Regions from separate parts of the Homo sapiens genome. Here regions 1, 2, 3, 4 and 5 are each linked to region 6. Evidence: promoter capture Hi-C in 16 types of primary human blood cells and fetal thymus (Javierre and others, 2016). All regions are on one chromosome and are shown on one strand. Each heading gives the region's core, a stretch centred on a gene start or on the middle of the fragment in contact. The rest is flanking DNA. Distances are from core to core; before and after follow the strand shown. Region 1 overlaps ACSL4 (acyl-CoA synthetase long chain family member 4). Region 2 has its middle 7.4 kb from the start of KCNE5. Region 3 overlaps RTL9 (retrotransposon Gag like 9). Region 4 has its middle 23 kb from the start of GUCY2F. Region 5 overlaps NXT2 (nuclear transport factor 2 like export factor 2). Region 6 holds the start of TMEM164 (transmembrane protein 164).

The links. Contacts are between HindIII fragments. The CHiCAGO score rates a contact against its expected background, and 5 or more counts as called.
Region 1: a contact is called between a fragment that was not itself captured here and the fragment with the promoter of TMEM164 in region 6, in 5 of 17 cell types (total B cells, naive B cells, neutrophils and 2 more). The highest score is 7.4, in total B cells.
Region 2: a contact is called between a fragment that was not itself captured here and the fragment with the promoter of TMEM164 in region 6, in 1 of 17 cell types (neutrophils). The highest score is 7.4, in neutrophils.
Region 3: a fragment that was not itself captured here is called in contact with the fragment with the promoter of TMEM164 in region 6 in 2 of 17 cell types (naive B cells and M2 macrophages); the score reaches 7.3 in naive B cells.
Region 4: a contact is called between a fragment that was not itself captured here and the fragment with the promoter of TMEM164 in region 6, in 1 of 17 cell types (neutrophils). The highest score is 5.1, in neutrophils.
Region 5: a fragment that was not itself captured here is called in contact with the fragment with the promoter of TMEM164 in region 6 in 1 of 17 cell types (non-activated CD4 T cells); the score reaches 6.6 in non-activated CD4 T cells.

Annotation. Positions count from the first base shown.
Region 1 is chrX:109,703,452-109,706,889 of GRCh38, forward strand. The region is part of intron 1 of ACSL4 (acyl-CoA synthetase long chain family member 4); the gene reads right to left. Among named protein-coding and RNA genes, the nearest start is that of ACSL4, 28 kb to the right of the region's middle. The HindIII fragment of the contact is 190 bases long and covers 2,043-2,232 here.
Region 2 is chrX:109,630,866-109,634,204 of GRCh38, forward strand. No RefSeq gene overlaps it. Among named protein-coding and RNA genes, the nearest start is that of KCNE5, 7.4 kb to the left of the region's middle. The HindIII fragment of the contact is 5,756 bases long and covers 1-3,339 here.
Region 3 is chrX:110,415,732-110,419,429 of GRCh38, forward strand. All of the region lies in intron 1 of RTL9 (retrotransposon Gag like 9), which reads left to right. It also overlaps a transcript of AMMECR1 not described here. Among named protein-coding and RNA genes, the nearest start is that of RTL9, 59 kb to the left of the region's middle. RefSeq lists an enhancer at 2,597-3,097. The HindIII fragment of the contact is 704 bases long and covers 1,555-2,258 here.
Region 4 is chrX:109,503,669-109,507,180 of GRCh38, forward strand. No RefSeq gene overlaps it. Among named protein-coding and RNA genes, the nearest start is that of GUCY2F, 23 kb to the left of the region's middle. The HindIII fragment of the contact is 413 bases long and covers 1,225-1,637 here.
Region 5 is chrX:109,538,065-109,541,331 of GRCh38, forward strand. It overlaps NXT2 (nuclear transport factor 2 like export factor 2), which reads left to right. Exons shown (of 4, transcript NM_001242617.2): 2 at 1-67. Among named protein-coding and RNA genes, the nearest start is that of NXT2, 2.9 kb to the left of the region's middle. The HindIII fragment of the contact is 7,526 bases long and covers 1-3,267 here.
Region 6 is chrX:110,001,417-110,004,980 of GRCh38, forward strand. TMEM164 (transmembrane protein 164) reads left to right here and starts at 1,698. Exons shown (of 7, transcript NM_032227.4): 1 at 1,698-1,762; 2 at 2,085-2,748. The coding sequence starts at 2,359. RefSeq lists a silencer at 943-1,802 and an enhancer at 1,905-2,560. The HindIII fragment of the contact is 10,429 bases long and covers 1-3,564 here.

The DNA of each region.
Region 1 (3,438 bases), core at 888-3,387, 300 kb before region 6:
AAATTTATTTTTTTTAAAAAAGTAAAAATGCCCTCTAAAAAAGAATATAGTTTCATATTCCCACCGGCAGTATATTAATATGCCCATTTCCCCATATCTCCTCCAATACTGGATTGAACTGTTTGATAGATACCAAAAACACTGTCTTAATTTTTTGCTTTTCACTATTAGCTAATGAACATATGAAAATATTTCACTGGCTGGGTATGGTGGCTCACGCCTGTAATCCCAGCACTTTGGGAGGTCGAGGTGGGCAGAACACTTGAGGTCAGGAGTTCGAGGTCAGCCTGGCCAACATGGTGAAACCCTGTCTCTAGCAAAAATACAAACATTAGCCAGGTGTGGTGGCAGGCACCTGTAATCCCAGCTATTCGGGAGGCTGAGGCAGGAGAATTGGTTGAATCTGGGAGGTGGAGGTTGCAGTGAGCCGAGATTGCACCACTGCAGAGCGAGACTCCATCTCAAATAAAAAAAAAAAAATTCACTATGTCTGAATTTCTTAGACATATTAGATAAATATTGTGGGGTTTTTTTGTTGTTGTTGGCTGTTTGTTTTTTAGTTTTAAGTAGTAAAATATATCTCCTTTATGGCTTCTGGGTCATTTTCCCACTTCAAGACTATAAAATTATTCCCTCGCATTTCTTAGAAGTATGATTATTAGGTCACAGATCTTATAAACTATGCCATATTCACATTCTCTGATACCTTCTTGCTTGAGATACCAAACTGCATATCCATGACAACAGTCATATTTCCTTGCATAGATAAATATGCAGTATTCTGATAGTTTTCACTTTATCCATTTTGAAGCAATGTTTATTTTTATTTTTCTTACTTAAATAAGGTAAACATTACAGCAAATAAGCAATGCTTATTTATCTTAGACCCATTCTCTTCATCTAAACTCAAAGACAGAGTCTAGTTTGAATGCCAAGAGAAATAGTCCAATCTTAGCTAATAATTCTATTATCATTCATTTTGTTACATAAATTCTCCCCCATGATTAGTATGAAGATATATAAATACGATGTAGATCTATCAAGTGCCTAATGAACTGCAAGCACACAAATTTCACTCCTTACATACCAAGTTGTAGACTCTCAGAACCAAAATAGGCTTTAAAGTAAAGATAATGAGCTTGTCTCTAAAAAAGAAACACTTCTCTTGGGCAAACCTGGAGGACACTATGCTAAGTGAAATAAGCTAGACACAGAAGGACAAATACTACATTACACCATTTATAAAAGGAAACTAAAAAGAGTCAAACTCATAGAAGCAGAGAGCAGAATGGTGGTGACCAGGGGCTGGGTAGAGGGAGAAACAGGATGGTATTAGTCAAATGATACAAAGTTTCAGTTATGAAAGATGAAGAAGTCCCAGAGATCTACTGTACAGCATGGTGCCTATAGTTAACAATACTGCATTGTGTATTTTAAAATTTGCTAATAGGGTATATCTTATTTTAAGTGTTTTCATCTCTCTCTCTCTCACACACACACACACACACACAAATAACAATACATAAGAGGGCAGGAGGAAACTTTTGGAAGTGATGGATGGGTTTATGGCATAGATTGTGGTGATGATTCTCTCCGAACTCATTGAGTTGTATACATTCCATCTTTACAGCTTTTTGTATGTCAATCCTACCACAATAAAATGGTTTTAAAAAATGAGGGATGGGTCATTAATTATTGTCCATTTTTGGTGCCAATAGTTTTCAAAGGCAACTTTTTAATTATATAGGTGTAATCATTCTCTAGGGAAAAATGAATACAAATTAGAGTGTGCACACAGATGTTTCCAAATGAATCCATCCATCTCTCTTTAGGAAGTCTCTGCAGTGTACATTTCTTAGGACAGTTTTGCTTAAGGAAGTTTAGCTTGTTCTGCTACCAGTGACAGAGAGCAGGATAAAAGACACAGGGAACCAGTGAGATGCCTACTAAAATAAGAAATGGAAGATGCTCAAAGACAAACATTGCCTGGTTTGACATTTTGTCTGTGTGGTTTATTCTGCCTATTTGCTTCCTTTACCTGAAGCTTAACTGAAATCTCCGGTTTCTGAACCATACTTTTTATCTCGGCTTTGAAATTCAGTTTAAATATGTACCTTTTGGGAAATTGTTGCTATTTATTTTTTTAACCACAAACCCACCCATCCTTCATATTTAGTGACAAATAGAAGCTATTAAAACACTAGAGGGATTTTCAATATCTGATCCAAGGAAAGCTTTTTTAAATGCCAGAAAGTTCCTTTGAGAGGTGGAGTTTTGCTTTTGTTGCCCAGGCTGGAGTGCAATGGCACGATCTTGGCTCACCACAACCTCCACCTCCCGGGTTCAAGCGATTCTCCTGCCTCAGCCTCCCGTGTAGCTAGGATTACAGGCATGCACCACCATGCCTGGCTAATTTTGTATTTTTAGTAGAGACGGGGTTTCTCCATGTTGGTCAGGCTGGTCTCAAACTCCCGACCTCAGGTGATCCACCCGTCTCAGCCTCCCAAAGTGCTAGGATTACAGGCGTAAGCCATGGCGCCAGGCCCCATTTACTTTTTAGCAACAATGTTTAAATCTTGACTTTTGAATAGGGGTATATACTAGCTTAAAATAACTTACTATAACACAAATAAATTATGGAGTGAAGTTCTAGGTTGACATTAAAATTTATTCATCTACTCTTTACCTTCTTCACAGAGGTTGTAAGAATTTTAAAAATTGAATACAATGATAACTGTAAAATAATTTTAAAAAGAAAGAAACAGTTCCCCCCACTCCATGACTAAGAAGCTAAAATAGGGTCTGCTTTCTAGAACATTAAGAAAGCACCCTATGTGCTTCCCTCTATACTAAAGTTAGGAAATTCTTTCTAATCAGTTATAATTACAGCTTTACTCTTAAGATCATCTTGAGACTAGATAAAAGATGAATGTGAGAGTATGAAAAAACAACAAGAATGCACACCATTCCTTTTCCTTCAGTTACCTAGAATTAAATTAGCAGCAGTATCAACAGGGAAAGCACATTCTGTTTATGAGCTCTCAATATATCAATTGCATTTAAATTAGAATTTTTCAAAGTCATAAAAATCAACTGATAATACTTTTTGAGGTCCACACCTAAGAAACAGCTTGATTATCATGAAACAACTACTGGGGAAAAAACTTTCAACATATGAAAATTGCTGTCACACTGATAATTCTTGACTCTGAATTAAGAATCTTACGATACTGATTTTTAAATATTTTGGACAAACAGATTACATAACAGCAAACACTGACCTTACCACAACTCTCCTTTCCAAGTTTAGTCAAGAAGTGTGTTGATACATGGATGAATCTGAATTTACAAGGCATTCATTAAAATACTACAGACCTGAACAATACTTGAAGAAAGTGATTGTTACCTTAAGTGTTCTTAACCAGAAAGTACTCTTGT
Region 2 (3,339 bases), core at 733-3,232, 370 kb before region 6:
CCCAAAATGTCTTCAATGCCACACACCTTCTCAACTAGATGAAATCTCACTGTCCTTAGCAATCTCATAGCGTAGAATAATAGTGACGGATGGGCTCATCAGATGGCCCCTACAGACCTCATGAGGGCAGGTGCTGTGTTCTTCCTCTTTGTACCCCTCACCATGCCTGGCACAGTGCCTGGCACATAATATGTGCTCAGGAAATTTTTACCTAGGTCTGAGGTCTGCCTTCCCGTAATGAAACTTACCAACTTTGAAAAAGATTCACTCTGTGGGGACTGTGAAACTTTGAAGTTACATTTTTCCAAAAAAAAGTATATATTGTGTAAAATTTCAAACATATAGCGACATTGACAGAATTTTACAGAGGATATCTAGTAACCACCTAGATTCTACCACTAATATTTTCCTATACTGGCTTTATTCATCCCTCACCTATCCACTCCTCCCTCTATCTATTTGTCTATTCATTATCTTTTTTTTTTTTGAAGTTGCATACATCAGTATGCACTTCACTCCTAAGCACTTTCTCCATACCTATCATTAACTATAGTCCAATATTTGTTTATTATTCTTTTTTCCTTTTGAAGTAAAATATACATACAATGAGATATATAAATATTAACTGCATATTTTCTGAGTTTTGGTAAATGTAACCCCTACTAAGATAAAGACTACTACTCAAGAACATGTCCTCTCATCCTTTCATAGGCAATCCTCTCCCTTCACTCCCAGAGGCAGCCACTGTTTTTTTTCCGTCATTGATTAGTTTTGCCTGTTATAGAAGCTCATATATATGGAATCATAAGGCATGGACTTTTTTGAATAAGACTTACTTTACTCAGCTTAATGTTTTTGAGGCTCATGCTAATACATGATACATAATGATACATAATTCACATATATGATACATAAATCATGACACATGCTGTTGCGAGTATCAGTAGTTTGTTCCTTTTTATTACTGAGTGGTACTCCACTGTGTGACCATACCACAGTTTGTTTATCCATTCTCCTACTGATGAACACTTGGTCTGTTTCCAACTTCTGGCTATTAAAAATAAAGCTGCTCTAAATGTTCTCATATAATTCCTTTTGTGGACATATGTTTTCCTTTTTCTTGGGTAAATACCTAGGTGTGGAAATGCTGGGTCATGGGAAAGATGTACTTTAGTTTTATAAGAAATTGCCAGACATTTTCCCAAAGTGGCTTGTATCATTTTAGACTCCCACCAACAGTGTGAGAGGATTCCCATTGTTTATGGTTACTTGTGCAGCTCTCTGCTTCAATTGCATACTTAGCCTTGCAGTGCACCCATGAAATGCATTTATCATTATACTTATAAAAGGGCCAAGCCTGACTGTTTGTGGCTTAGTACTTAAAACTTCCCCCAATTTTGATGACTACTAAATGAACACCCAAGCTCTAGGAAATTGCTACATTGTGAGGGTAAGCTCTATGTGATAATAGCTTTTACTGAAAGTGACAAACACTGTGTTAAACACTTTACATACATTATCTCACCTAATCCTTAACAACAACCCTCTGAGGTAGGTAAAACAGTATTCCTATTATACAGATGAGGAAATTAAGTTGCAGAGAGGTTAAGTAACTTGTCCAAATTCGATTGGCTCATAGGTGGTCAAGCTGAGATTTGAACCAGAGGTCAGTTATCTTTTTTATTGTCTACTGTCCTTTGTATAGAAACTATCAGGGAAAATAAAACATTTCAGGGTTGGAAGTCTCATCTAACCCTCTTATTGTAAAGGCGGAGCTACTGAGGTCCAGAGAGGAGAAGGGACTTGCCTGAAGTCTCTCATTAGTTAATGGCAGAGCCATCAGACTGCCTCGCAGTCAGGAGACGTTTTCACTCCACTGCACGGCCTCCTCCAATGCTTTGGGCAATTCAGATTTTATTTCCAGCTTTGTAATGGTGACAAGGGTGCAAAAACCACTTTGAGATCTTTGAAATAAGTACATGAATCTAAAAGGGTGGAGTGAAATAAGGTCAATCTTGCCTTTTGGGCCAAAACATAAAGTCATAAATAAAATTATCAAACTCATGTCAATTCCTGCCTAAACATTATCTTGAAAATGTTTCTCCCACCCACTCAGGCTTCTCTGGAAAAGAAAAAAGAAAAACAAAGAAACAAAAATGCGGATATTTGGAGTATTCTTGGGAAAGGAGTGGGAAAGGAAGAGGTCCGAGGGCACTTTTCTTTTGGACTCCCACAGCACCATCTGGTGGAGGACTGGAGTTTTCATTTCTCCTCATTCAGAATGTTTTTCTTTTCTTTTAATTCATATGTCTTTATTTATTTATTTTTAGGTTTTTATATATACTTTAAGTTCTGGGGTACATGTGCACAATGTGCAGGTTTGTTACATAGGTATACATGTGCCATGTTGATTTGCTGCACCCATTTTATCTTTGCTCCAGTTTCCTCGATTGTAAAATGGAGATAATAACCATGCGCTTACCATAGGATTTTGTGGCAAGGATTGAATAAGATAACTTATGTAAAGTACTGAACATAATGCCTGGAACATGTGAAATGCTCAATAATGTTGGCTGTGGTTGTTTCATTAACATTAAACGTATGGTGCAGTGGGAACCAGAGAGGAGCATTTGACTCAACCTCAGAGAGCTCAGGGCACATTTCCCTAAGGATGTGACACCTGACATAAGTTTTGAGTATGAAATAGTCACTAGGATCATTTCTCCATGTGGAAAACAATGCCTGTAACAACAGGGTTTACTCCTCTAATCCCACATTGTGAAGGATGACAGCATAGTGTTCCTTTGCCTCTGGGGTACCAGGGATTGCAGCGAGGGCTTCTAAGCTACAAGATGGTATGGGAACATTTAGGAATTATTGGAATTAGTCCCCTGACCACGTGAGACATTGTTTCCATAGTGGACACACAGAGTTTGACTTGAAATTAGATGCTAAGAGAAACATGGTTGTGTCGATTACCACCTGTTTGTTCTAATTTCTACTTTGCTTGTCAGCAATGATGCTTCAGTGGCTCTTTATTCACTCAGCATTATGTTAAATAGGCATGATGGGATCTGATAATTTCTCATTGCCTCCAAATTGTGCCTGGCATACACCACAAACATATTTGACTCTATTCCTATTGCTCATCACCCTTGCAAACCCTTAACCCTTCCAGGTTATCCAAATTTTACTCATCCTTCAAGGCCTAGACTTCCTCATTCATTCATTCATGAAATATTTTCTGAGCATGTACTATGTGCTAGGCACAGTGGCAGGCACTAGATCTATAACAGCATATGAGACAGACACAGTTTCTACTTTGACAGAGCCTGTGTA
Region 3 (3,698 bases), core at 657-3,156, 410 kb after region 6:
CCGCAAACAAAGATGGCTTTTGTTTGCAGTAAAATACTCATTCCTTCAATTTTGTCCTGCAAAGTGACTTCTATAGCTTTGGGAGTCAGGTTTGCTGAGTGGGGAAACTGATTGTCCATGCTTCATTGATTTAGAAATGACCAAAAATGTTTGCCTTTTCTGGCTCTTGAATAAAATGTTTAGGAATTTCATTGGCAAAATGATGAAATTGTTCCCTTTACTGCTGCAAGACTTCCAAAACTATATATCGTGGGTTAACTTAACCCAGAAGAGGCAAAAAAAAAAAAAAAATGGGAAGCAGACTCAGATGATTAACACTCTGCCTTAATTGGGTGCTTACTCACTCTGCCGTGGCAAGGCACTGTGTTCTGGACTTTGGAGATATCTCATTTAAAACTCTCAACAGCCTGTGGGTAAGGGACTGTTATTGTTCTCATGGTAGAGATGGTCAAACTGAGTTTCATAGAGGCTCAGCTCTGAAATCATGAGACCAGGATTTGAAGCCGAGTTCAGCTGGTTCCATGGGCACACACTAACCATTTGGCAACAGTGCCTCTAGACTAGTCTGGCTACAAAGGGACAGAGGTATGTATTTATTTTGATTTAACGAACCGTTGTTTAATGTTTACCATGTCCCGGGCACATGGTAACTGCTTTAAAAATGTTAGATTATTTACTTCTCATAGACAACCCTGTGAGGAGGTACTATTATTAATATCATATGACAGGTGGGAAAATGGAGGCACAGGGGTGTTGAATCACTTGCCCGGGGTCACTCAGGCTAGCATGTGACAGAGCTAGAGTTACAATCCAAGTGGCCATGTTCAGGTGTGTGGCCCATTACCTTGACTCTGTGCTGGTTAGCATGCTACCCCCTGTGCCCTGTCTGCATAGCTCTGGCTCAGAAACACTGAAGACATGGGCCTCTTTTTGTAGTTTTGTAACAGATTTGTACTTTTTAAAGTATTTTCCACCATTAAAGCCATACGCTCTGCTTCTAAGCGTCCTGTGGGGTTGGTGGGAAGGGTGAAAACATACTCCTGTCCTTCTATAGCAAGACTAGCTTAGAGGCAAGGTGGCCCAGTGGTTAGAGCATGCCCATGGTGCCAGTGAACTCAGCTTCAAATCCTGGCCTTATGATTTCAGAGCTGAACCTCTCTGAATGTCTGTATCACTATCTTTGCTAAAGGAAGAGGAAGCTTTCTCCCGATATCTTCATTTACTTCCAATTTTCGGTTTTTGGGGGAGAGCTGGGTTTCCTCCACAGCTAGGCGCTGGGTGGCGAAGGGCTTTTGGACTGTCACTACTTTTCATTCGACAGAGACTTCAGGATAGCCCCCTTCAAAGGCAGTCTGTTTGGGGTCATCAGGAACAGACAGAGTGCTCTTCCCTACCGCACTCATCCCACCTAGTGCCATCTATCCTTACCCACTCTGAATCCCTCCTCTCGGCAGGCACTGCCTCATTCCCCAGAGCCAGGCCTAGACAATGGCGGCTGCTCAGCTTGGAGGGAGGGGGAGTGAAGAGGCAGCAGGCCCAACCTGCCAGCTTGAAAGCTTCATTTGACAGGGGAGGAGGCACATCTGGTTTGGGTTTTCAATTCAATTCAACAATGATTTATTGTGGGTCTGCCAGCTGCAGAGGTTCTGGGCTAGGCTAGGCAGCAAGAGATGCAAAGATAAGTAAAATATTGTCTGTGCCCTTAAAGGAGTTTTCTAGGTTGTAGGGGTGTGCAGACGCAAATGAGCATTTTTTTTTTATGCGATAAGCCCTGTGCTTAGCAGTTTACCTTGCCTACATTATTATGTCTTTGCATCTTCCCAGCAGGTTTTGTGATGGAGGTGGGTAAACTATTATCACTTCATTTTATACACATGAGGAAACAGAGCCTCAGAGTGGAAGAGACTGGCCCAAGGTCACATTTTTAAGAATGGACCAAACCAGTTCTGGAACTATTACATTCTTCTGCTCCCCAGAGGTGATGAAGATGATGATGATGACAAAAAACACTTACTGAGCTCTGGAGGCCAAGTCTTGTGCTATGCAGGCTGCAGATATTATTTTACTGGCAACTTCCAACATCCCATTGAGGCTGATGTTGTTATCCCTTTTTCTAGAAGAGAAAACGGAGGTAGCCTTGGGAAGTGATGGAGTTGGAATTTGAAACCAGGTCATTCCAGTCCACCAGCCTGTACCATAAAAGAGGTAGACACAGGGTGCCATGTTCAGGGGCAAGAGCAATGAATTGTGCCTGCAAAAGCTTCATGCCAGAGATGGCATTTACATTTGGCCTTGAAGGGTGAGATGGGGTTATGATTGGTAGAGTTGGGAGAGAGGGCATCCCAGTCAGAAGGGATATTCTGAGCAAAGAACCCAAAGAGATGACTTGTGGAGCATTTTGATTGAGAGGCTGTAGGTTCATCCGGCATGCAGGCCGGGGACTCTGGGTGTAGAGGAACAATGTGAAGGAAACCAGAGATACGCCTGATGGTCTAACACATTTTTGTCAAGTTGAGGTTCTTATTTTTTTAATTAAGAGCAGGTACTCTGCCCCAAAGGCTTTTCAAATGATACTATCTTGCAACCCATGAGCAAACACACTCGAGTCTCTCACTGTGTAAATTCTACTGTGCTGAGAGCTGCGGTGAATACAAAAGAAAACAACTCAATTCCTCAAGTGTGTGCCGATGGCCCCCGTGTGGTTGAGGAGGCAAGATACACACAATCAGGAAAAGCAGCAGCTAGCATAGGCAGTTAGTGATCAGGGCCAAATGAGTTTTTCCAGCCGTCAGATTTCAAGGAACATGAACGAGAGGAAGGCCGGCAAGCTTAAGGCCGGGTGGGGCAATCAGTGTAGCTAGCATTAAGGGCTCTGGCCAGGCCTCCCTTCCCCAAACTGCCACGGTCTCCAACCATGTCTTGACCTCCCAGAGTTTGTTAGGGAAGATGGGACCTTATGGGATCAGAGACAGCGCATGGGAGCTGGGAAACGGAGCCGAATACCTGATATTCCTGATCCTCCAATTTTCTACACTTATTCTCATTTCCTGGCAGCTCCTCCAGCTGCTGAATTGTATGTGTATGTGTGAGCCGTATTTTAAATTAAGCAGTGAGTTCTTTCAGCTCATCATAAACATGCTAAAAAGCTTCAGCCGCGGCCTGAGCCCACCCCCGCCCTTTACACACACAGGCAGCAGCTGGGGCCACTCGACCCCACACTCTAATGTGCATTGCCTATGACTCACCAACAAAAACGACTGTATGTTTCAGTCTCCCTGGGTAGCTGATTCCTAGTTGTGGTGGGAAATCTCAGTCCGATTTGGAAGGCAAAGGGCCTCAGCCCCGCCCTACTGACTGTGAATTCTACAACATATGGAGCGCCTACCTTGTGCAAGGCATTGTGGGTAAGTCCATTCATCTCTCTGGGCTTTCCATTTCCTCAGCTTCAAAATGCATGTACTAATCCTGCCGGCTTTACCTCCCTCCTAGGGCTCTGTGTCTCAGCCACACTGGTCTTTCAATTTCTGCAACATTCTCGGTCTTTTCTCGCCCCAGGGCCTTTGTTCGTGCTCCTGCCTGGACTGCCCTTCCTCTTGCTTTTGGCATGGAAGGCTCCTTCCTAACCTTTCAGTCTCAGCTTAACGTTACCTCCTGAGAAGAGCCTTCTCTGACCACCCACAGTTAGATGCCTCCTGTTC
Region 4 (3,512 bases), core at 181-2,680, 500 kb before region 6:
TTCCAGAGACATCATTCAGAAACTTTGTCTTCTGTAGACTCGTCCTTATTATTATTCTTCTAGTCATAAGGTCAAAGTGGCAGCACAGCTTGCCCCACTGTTGGGACCCTTTTCTGCACTGGGCCTTTCTTTAGTACCTAATTAAACATGCTCAAATATAGTGCATATTGCCTTCAAAATCTGAAAAGGCCCACCAAACATTAAGCCTTTTTCTTTACGGTGAGCCGTGTAAAGTGCAGCAACTTTCCTTTTAGAAGGATATCTCAAGATGCTTGAAACGGGACCCCTAGAAACTTCATCTACATGGGAGGATCTTGAACTATGTCCCACCATATATATGAACATATCTTACTAAGGTATCTAGTTTTATTTCTACTTCCTGATCATCAAATCTGATTAGCATAATATTGTCAATTTAATAGAACAATAATGATCTGTGAGATATCAAGATGGACAAGATCCCTCTCAACTATATTATGATAAAGAATAGGAAAATTAGAATAGATCTGGAAACAATACAGTCATCCCTACTTCTGATTTTCATTACTGAGAGGAATGGGAATAGGAAGCAATTTCCAAGTCAACAGCTGTATACAACAGGCCAGAATCTGTGTTGATTTGCCTTAGTAAAAATACCACATCCAGAACTGGAGCTGTGGTTGGCATCATCACCAGAATAAGTCCGTAACAATTTGCTGTCATTATCCACAACCTATCTCACTTTTGTACCAGTTAATTAGATGAGTTAAATGGAGATGAGGTAGAAGTTATCACCCCTGCATCTCTCTAGTCTTATCTCTGCAGTTCCTCCAGAGATATGGTATTGCTTTTGGTTTATTGTCTTTGAGTGGGATGAAGGGAATTTCCAAGGGCTTTTACTTGGCCACTGCCCACCGTAAGAGACCTCATCCTTCAGGTGGGGACAAGGTAGAGATTCTGCCAGTTACTAAGTATATATGTTCATACTATACGTTTAATGTCTATAGAAATAACCACTGAATGGATCCCTTGTTCCAATGGATCAGAGCCAGTACATAATAGATAATTTTAAAATTCTGGTATGTTTCTTTCCCCACTGCACAGTCCCCTTAGTACATGGCTGAAGGCCACTTTGGGAAAAGCTTAGGGTAAGATTGACAGTATATACATATGGCCATATTATAGGGTGCTTCTTCAAAAGGATGCAACCACCTCTCCATTTAAGAAGCTCCAAGTCTATTAACAAGCTTAAGTCTAAGAACTAGGCAAGAGGCTGTGAATTGCCATTGTTTTGATTCAAGTTAGATTTTTGTCCAACAGACCTAAAATTTTTCCACATGTATCAAACAAGCAGCATTTTAATAGGCTGCCCATATATTTCACTTTGAGGGATCTGTTACCAATTAGCTACCACAGTTCTCTCCATTCCAGAATATTCGAGTTGCCATTATGCCACTGTGGCTTACTGTGATAATTGTATTCCCTTATTTCTAATGGTTAGGTGTCACCATCTGTGTTCTATAATTCCAAAAATCCATTATTCCCAAAATGATCAGAGAATCCAGTTCCACTACATCATGGACTCCTTCTACAGTGCATTCAGGATGTTCAAATATTTTTGCCTTATTAACTAGGCCATGATTGATATACTGAGATTAAGCTTTGATTAGTCATCCTGGTGGACCACTAATGACAATCCCAAGTGCAGTCATGCATCACATAATGACAGGGATATGTTCTGAAAAATGCATTATCAGACAATTTCATCATTGTGCAAGCATCATAGAGTGTACGTACTCAAACCTAGATGTATAGCCTACTACGCACCTGGGGTACATGGGATAGCATACTGTTTAGGCTACACGCTTGTCCTGCATATTACAGTACTGATTCCTATAGGCAACTGTAACACATAATAGTAAGTATTTTTGTATCAAAACATATCTAAACCTAGAAAAGCATCAGCAAAAGTGCAATATAAAATATAAAATATGGTAAACCTGTATAGGGCACTTATCATGACTGGAGTTTGCAGGAAAGGAAGTTGTTCTGGGTGAGTCAGTGAGTGAATGTTGAGTGAATGTGACAGCCTAAGACATTACTGTATACTACTGTAGACTTTATAAACACTGTACACTTAGGCTACACTAAATTTGTAAAAAAAAATAAATAAATAAGGTAACTACATTATGATGTTACAATGGCTATAACATCACTGGGCGATAGGAATTTTTGGTTCCATTATAATTTTTATTTAATTTTTTTTTAGAGTCTCACACTATCACCCAGGCTAGAGTGCAGTTGTGTGATCACAGCTCACTGCAGCCTCGACCTCCTGGGCTCAATTGATACTTCCACCTCATTCTCCTGAGTAGCCAGGACTACAGACACACACTACCATGACGGGATAATTTTTTTTTAATTTTTTGTAGAGAATGGGGTCCCAGTATATTGCCCAGGCTGGTCTTGAACTCCTGAGCTCAAGTGATCCTCCTGCCTCAGCCTCCAAAAGTGCTGGGATTACAGGTGAGAGCCACCATGCCTGGCTTCCATTATAATCTTATAGAACCACCACCATATATGAGGTTTGTCATTGCCCAAAACATCATGATGCAGAGCATGACTGTACTTGAGTACTATCATATTCAATCCTGAATCTTGGGAGAGTGAACCTCTGTCAATATATCTTACATTTCCTCCCCTTGATCTAACATTTATAATGTGATAAATACATGAGTAAGCTAAAATAGTGACTATGTGAAACAATATCTAATTCATGGGATCAAAAATATAGTAAAAAATGCTGGACAATGAATACATATAAGTCAGAGTGGAATGATCAGAATTAAAATGTTCTATGGTCCTTGTATTGTTTGGGAGGGTGGCAAATATAATGATTTAATTTAAACATTATTAAATATGCAGCACATTTCTAAAATAGAAAAAGAGAATATAACTAAAATAATGGAAACAGAGCATATAACTTTCAAGTCAAAAAGGAAAAAAATTGTTGGGGATAAACAGACACATCCATAAAAATATCAATCTGAAAGGAAGCAAAAAATGAGGTGAAGAAAGAGAAACAAAAGAACGACAATGAAAAAGATAAAAATGAATGTTAAATGTATAAATAAATCCAAATATATCACTAACCATAATGAATATAATAGACTAACCTCTTCATTTAAAATCATAGACTGGACGGGAAAAAAGACTTCTACTTCTAACTACAAATGAGTAGCATTTATCTGACTAAGTCTCCCTCTGAAAATAATTATAAAAATTATACAAAATACATTTTTAAACAAAGTCTTTAGAGATACTGAAGAACAACCAACACAGGCAAGACATGATATGTTACTTTCCTTGAAAGGAGAAATGCACATGAGGAGACCTTCACATTCATCCAGGCATTCACCAAAGGATATTTTTCTGATTTGAGAAAGCGTGAGTATTTCTGGGATGAGGAGACAGAGGCAAGATCTCAGGCTACTAAATTGAGTTAGGGTTGAAGGTTGAGGGACAAAATCATA
Region 5 (3,267 bases), core at 273-2,772, 460 kb before region 6:
TCAGGCATGTAGAGCTGCTGAGGAGTTTGTCAATATTTACTATGAGACAATGGATAAAAGAAGACGGGTGAGTGTTATAGACTCTACTACTCTTTATAGACTACTACTCTTTATTAAATACCAGGTTGTGTCTGGAGCCAGCGTTTCATCTGACTTGCATAAGTGGTAACTGTGGATTTACTCTTTAAAAGCAAATTGCTCAGGGAAGGATTGGTATGGCATTAGTGGGAACATGGGCTCTGGAATCATATCCCAGGTTTACTTTTACCTAGTTCTTTGACCTGGAGCAAGTTGCCATTTTCCCTTAACCTCATTTTATTTTCAGGTTGGTAAGTATGAATTAATTAAAATACCGCACTTAACATTAGGCCCAGCATATTTTCTTAAATATGTTTCCTTTTCTTAGTTCCATCAATTAACCAATATGGTTAAGGTATTATTAGTGCTAATGAAGGGGTGGGTCATTACGGGGAATATTTCCTGATTCGCCCCTTTTATTTCATATATTTATAGATAATTTCTGATCATGGCTCAAAAGTATAGCTTACACCCACAAAAAGTATGCATGTAGCATGGATAATATTAAGTCCTCAACAGACCGAGATTTCATCAGCTTTTTCATTGCAACTTATCCCTGCACCATATCTTTTACGTAATTATGTCAGTATGTGGTCAAGTGAGTCTTGCCTAGGTCTCTTACCAGCATAGAACTGTGCTTTGGAGAACTACTTCTGTCCTGCAGCTGCAAAAGTTAATACCCTATCTCTAAAAACCTATTTTTTATATAAAACCCATTTATTAAGCATAGGATTTTATATATATATATACTTTAAGTTCTGGGATACATGTGCAGAATGTGCAGGTTTGTTACATAGGTATACACGTGCCAAGGTGGTTTGCTGCACCCATCAACCCGTCATCTACATTAGGTATTTCTCCTAATGCTATCCCTCCTCTAGCCCCCCACCCCCTGACAGGCCCAGGTGTGTGATGTTCCCTTCCCTGTGTCCATGTGTTCTCATTATTCAACTCCTACTTATGAGTGAAAACATAACTGTGTTTGGTTTTCTGTCCCTGTGTTAGTTTGCTGAGAATGATGGTTTCCAACTTCATCCATGTCCCTGCAAAGAACAGGAACTCATCCTTTTTTATGGCTGCATAGTATTCCATGGTGTATATGTGCCACATTTTCTTTATCCAGTCTAACATTGATGGGCATTTGGGTTGGTTCCAAGTCTTTGCTATTGTGAATAGTGCCACAATAAACATATGTGTGCATGTGTCTTTATAGTAGAATCATTTATAATACTTTGGGTATATACCCAGTAATGGGATTGCTGGGTCAAATGGTATTTCTGGTTCTAGTTCCTTGAAAAATGGCCACACTGTCTTCTATAATGGTTGAACTAATTTACATTCCCACCCACAGTGTAAAAGCATTCCTATTTCTCCACATCCTCTCCAGCATCTGTTGTTTCCTGACTTTTTAATGATTGCCATTCTGACTGGCGTGAGATGGTATCTCATTGTGGTTTTGATTTGCACTTCTCTAATGACCAGTGATGATGAGGATTTTTTCATATGTTTGCTGGCCACTTCTTCTTTTGAGAAGTGTCTGTTCATATCCTTTGCCCACTTTTTGATGGGGTTGTTTTTTCTTGTAAATTTGTTTAAGTTCCTGTAGATTTGGAAATTAATAGATTGCAAAAATTTTTTCCCATTCTGTAGGCTGCCTGTTCACTCTGATGATAGTTTCTTTTGCTGTGCAGAAGCTGTTTAGTTTAATTAGATCCCATTTGTCAATTTTGGTTTTTATTGCCATTGCTTTTGGTGTTTTAGTCATGAACTCTTTGCCCATGCCTGTGTCCTGAATGATATTGCCTAGGTTTATGGTTTTGGGTGTTACGTTTAAGTGTTTAATCCATCTTGAGTTAATTTTTGTATAAAGTGTAAGGAAGGGGTCCAGTTTCAGTTTTCTGCATATGACTAGCCAGTTTTCCCAGCACCATTTATTAAATAGGGAATCCTTTCCCCATTGCTTGTTTTTGTCAGGTGAAAACCAATTTTTTAAGGCAAAAGATAAAAGAAGTTTCTTGTACTGATATTTGATGTCAGGGAAAAGGGTTGTGACAATGGATGTTTATTGTGCCTTGCCTTGAATGTGTATTGTACCTTACTGCTTTCAAAAAATAAAGTAGAAAAAAAAAGACAACATTGTTTATTACCAGTGTCAATATATGTGTTGACCTTTTTTTTTATTTTTATTTATTTATTTTTTTTTGAGATGGTGTCTCACTCTGTCACCCAGGTTGGAGTGCAGTGGCGCGATCTTGGCTAACTGCAACCTCTGCCTCCCGGGTTCAAGCGATTCTCCTGCCTCAGCCTCCCAAGTAGCTGGGATTACAGGCAACTGCCACCACGCCCGGCTAATTTTTGTAGTTTTAGTAGAGATGGGGTTTCACCATCTTGACCAGGCTGGTCTTGAACTCCTTACCTCATGATCCACCCGCCTCAGCCTCCCAAAGTGCTGGTATTATAGGCGTGAGCCACCATGCCTGCCTGGCCTTTTAACCCAAGTTACATTATAGAATTAAGCTAATAGTGTGTCTTGTGACCCCAGAGTTTTAACTGTGGAATTTCTGCCTCATTTGGGCCTTAACTTATTTGACTTATCGAAGTCTCTGCTTTAGCAAGTACTCATGATTCTTTTGAACTAAGTACACTAATAGAGTAGTACTATAGCCGAGCATGGTATGACATGCCTGTAACCCCAGCTACTTGGGAGGCTGAGGCAAGAGGATTTCTTGACCCCAAGAGTTTGAGACCAGCCTGAGGCAACAGAGCAGGACCCTGTCTCAATTTTTTTAAAAAACAGAATAATTTTTAAGAAAACATAAACCTCTTCTCTAAAAAGTGGGAGTAGTGAACTAATTCTTTCTAACACATGCAAATATTAAATGTTTCATATATATATATAGCCACTAGCATTAAAGGGTACAGGTAGGGCTTGATCAAAAACTTTGTTAATTCTCATAATTACAAAAGGAAGACACACTAAAACTGGCTTGGGGCTGCATTTGCTTGGAATTTGTGATCATTTAATTCATTTGAATACAGAAAGCAGAACTTAATTGGGTGGAAGGTTTTATTGTGTCTAAAGTGAAATATGAAAAAATATATTTTACTGCCTAGTTTATAAAGAGTAAGGTGATATTTATTTAAGGCCAAGATTATAAGACAGACGTTTTGTTCACATGGGTTTCCAGT
Region 6 (3,564 bases), core at 448-2,947:
AGACTTGGAAAAAACGGGAGGGCGATGGCCTGATAATACAGTAGATTGCATTTTATGTTTTGAGCCTGGCTTGCAGCCAACATCCAAAAGTGTTTCCTAGGCAAGGTGCCTAACTGTGTTTTTCTGGATATTCTTCTAACTCATCGTGAGTCTTCAATAAATATTAAATAAACATGAGGAAGGTCCTGAGAAGGTCCTTTTACTGACCCTTGTCTCAAGAAAAGCAAATAGCCGATCGGTAAAAAGCAGCAGGTAGGAAGAGGGGATTTTATTTCCGTCAGTTGCCCTTATCCAGGTTTTGGGCTTAGTGCTGCTCCTCCACACTCATATAGTCCTGGCTGGCTTTTCCACGCATAGGTTAGGAAGCAACTGCTCTGGGGAGGGGGAAGGGGGGAAGAGGGGGAGGGAAAGAGGTCACGGGAAGCCTCCCTTCCTCCCACTGGCCTACCATTGAAGGCCTGTCAGGAGAAAGGAGAGAAGTGGGAGAGGGAGAGGGTGTGGCAGGGGTGGTCTGTGTGGCAAGAGGTAGAGAGAAAATAGTGGATCAGAGCAGGAGGGGGAGGAGCAGGGAAATGAAGCTCCTGTCCTAGGCACTGAAGTGTGGAGTGGGGCTGTGGCTAGAAAGGGGAGAGAAGATGCCTTTCTGGCCTTGCATGAGTCGTGGCAGAAAGGAGGAATCGCGAAGAGGAGCCGGCCATACCCAGCACACACCCCGAAGCCAAGCTGCTCATTACTAGAAAGGCTTATTCCCCCACAAGAAGTTAGTGCGGGCCAGCTAAGTGCCTACTATGTGTGCAGTATAGAAAGAAGTGCCCTGGAGAACCAGGTCGCGGGAGGCGGAGCCAGTCAACAGGGCTTCACCGAGGGGGCGAATTCTGTACACGGTTGTGAAGGAGGGTGGCTGTGCACGCGTGCAGGCTCCGAGTGCAGAAGACGAGGCAGGCCAGGGAGGAGGCGGAAGGAGGCGGAGCCTGAGCCGGAGGAGGGAGGAGGAGGGAGGAGGAGGAGGGAGAGCCGAAGCCGCGGAGGGTGGGAGGTGTGAATGGTGGACGGGTGAGGGGAGTGCCAGAGGCAGAAAAGGGAAGGAGGCGAGGAGGAGTAGTCGTGGCCCGAGGGCGTGTGGTGGGGCGAGAGCTGAACTGGACGGGAGGAGGGAGGCAGTGGCGGTGGCAGCGGGGAGGGGGAGGAGAGAGGGAGGGGAAGAAGGAGGAAGCGAGCGCGGCTGCTGCAGGGGGAGGAAGACGGGGAGGAGGAGCCGTGCGCCGCGGCGGCGGCCGCCAGGGGAACCGAGCGCCCGGCGCGGAGAGCGCGGGAGCGGAGCAGTAGCCCGATCCGGGGCCGCGGGCCGAGCTGCCGGTGAGTGAAGCCCCGAGGGGCGCGGCGGCCGGTCCCCGGGGCTGGGCGGGAGGCGCGGGAGGTTGCGGCGCCGGGGAGGAGGGAGGGGGGCCGGCTTTAGTCCAGGGGCCGGCTTTAGTCCAGCCCCCGGCTGGCCCGGCCTCCCGCCTTCCCTCTGGCTTCCTCCCTCCGCTGCCTGCGCGAGGGGGGCAGGTCCCGGGCGGGCCGCGGGCTGGGGGTGGTGCTGCCCGGAGGGCGGGCGTCTAGGGCCGGAGGGTGGAGCTGGGGGTTCGGGGGTGTACCCGGGGGCGGGAGGCTGGACAAGGACGGCTCTAAATTGGCTGGAGGGGCCCGTCGGCGGCGAAGTTGCTAGCTGGGGGCAGAGACGGCCACGCGGTTGCAGGAGTAAGAGATCCCTCTGTGGCGAGTGCGTGAGACGAGGAGTCCGGCGTCCCTGCCATCCCCGTCGCCCTCCCCGCCTGCTCGGCCCCGCTAGCTCCTCTCCTTGCCTCCGCGTGTCCCCTAGCTCTGACCCCTTTTGGCTCCCGGTTCGCTGCCGCAGCACTGCCGGGTCTCCTTGGCCCCCGCCCTGACCCTTTCGGCCTCCGGCTTCCCCTGACCCCTGCTTGCTTCGCCACTGCCCCGTTCCCGTTTTCTTCCCTCGCTAGTTACCCCTCCCGCTTCCTAATTCCCGGTGCAATTGCCTCTTTGAGACCTCTTTTTTTTTTTTTTCCTCTCCTTCCTTTTAGATTGGCCAACGGCTCCTTTCAACCCTGCCTCGTTGGTGGCCACTGGAGAAGCGCGGGGGGCTCCCCCAGACAGCCGTGGGGACAAGTTAGAGCCAGCACTTTACCCCGGGCCTTGCGTGTAGCTTCCCCTCCCCTACTCTCGGTGCCCTGGTGTCTGGAGGGGGGTTGTGGGGGTGTGCCCGCCTTACATGGTCCACCACCCGGGCAACCCTCTGGGCTTGTGTTCCATCTCACTCTTGCTTCCTGTACTGTGGTCAAGGGGAACCACTGCATCATGTCCCGGTATAGCTACCAGAGTCTCCTGGACTGGCTCTATGGGGGCGTGGACCCCAGTTTTGCAGGCAATGGGGGCCCCGACTGTGCTGCCTTCCTCTCTTGGCAGCAGCGGCTGCTGGAAAGTGTGGTGGTCCTGACCCTGGCTCTGTTGGAGATCCTGGTGGCCCTGCGGCACATCCTGAGGCAGACGAAGGAGGACGGTAGGGGTAGCCCTGGCAGCCAGCCAGAGCAGGTGACCCAGCGGCCAGAGGAAGGCAAGGAGAGCCTGAGCAAGAATCTGCTCTTAGTAGCCCTGTGCCTGACCTTCGGGGTGGAGGTGGGCTTTAAGTTCGCCACCAAGACCGTCATCTACCTGCTCAACCCCTGTCACCTGGTCACCATGATGCATGTGAGTCTGTTGACTTTTTCCTGGGCATCCTAAGTGATAAGAGTCATTTATGTGCTCAGGACACTCCATAGTGTACAGCACCTCATCCCGGCGGGCAGGGGGACCTTTAAAAATGATTTTCCAACGAGTGGCTGCCTTTGTGCCGATTTCAGGTTTGGCTTTCTTTCACCTTTGCACAGTGCGTCAGCCCCACAGTGGAGGTGAGGAACCTTGTGCCTGAACCCTAGGAACGACTGGCACTCACCCTGGCTGCCCCTCCCTTCCAGCCCAGCCCAACCCTGCCGTGCCCTGGGCTTTCACAAGCAGGAATTCCAGCCCCAGCCAGGTGCCCTTTCTGAATCACATCAGTGGACCATGACCCAGCTCCCTTGCCTTCTGTGGTAGTTAATTTCCCAGGGGCCTGGTGACACTCTTTCCTGGAGGTGGTCGCATAAACTTTCTCATCTACACTGTGGTACTTTGGGGAAATACTTTTACAGGTTTCTCTTAATGACTCTTTCATTTGGGAGTGTATGCTCTTAGAGTGAGGTCTGCCTTTGCATTTTGAGGCATTGGAGCAGCACCAAGCTCCTACTAAATGAGTTCTGAAGCAGGTCCCCAGGCTGACATGTGTACTTTGGGCTGGTGATCACTATGGTGAGAGGGTATTTCTTTTTTTGCAAACCTCTCCATCCTATTACTGTCATTCTGTCTCCTATGGTCATAGTCCAAGGGTGCTTAGGAAGCTGATTTCTTTACCTCATCGACTTCCACCCATTAGCGGTGCTAAGGAAAACAAATGGGATTGAAAAGGCAAGTTGCCAGATACATAAAAAT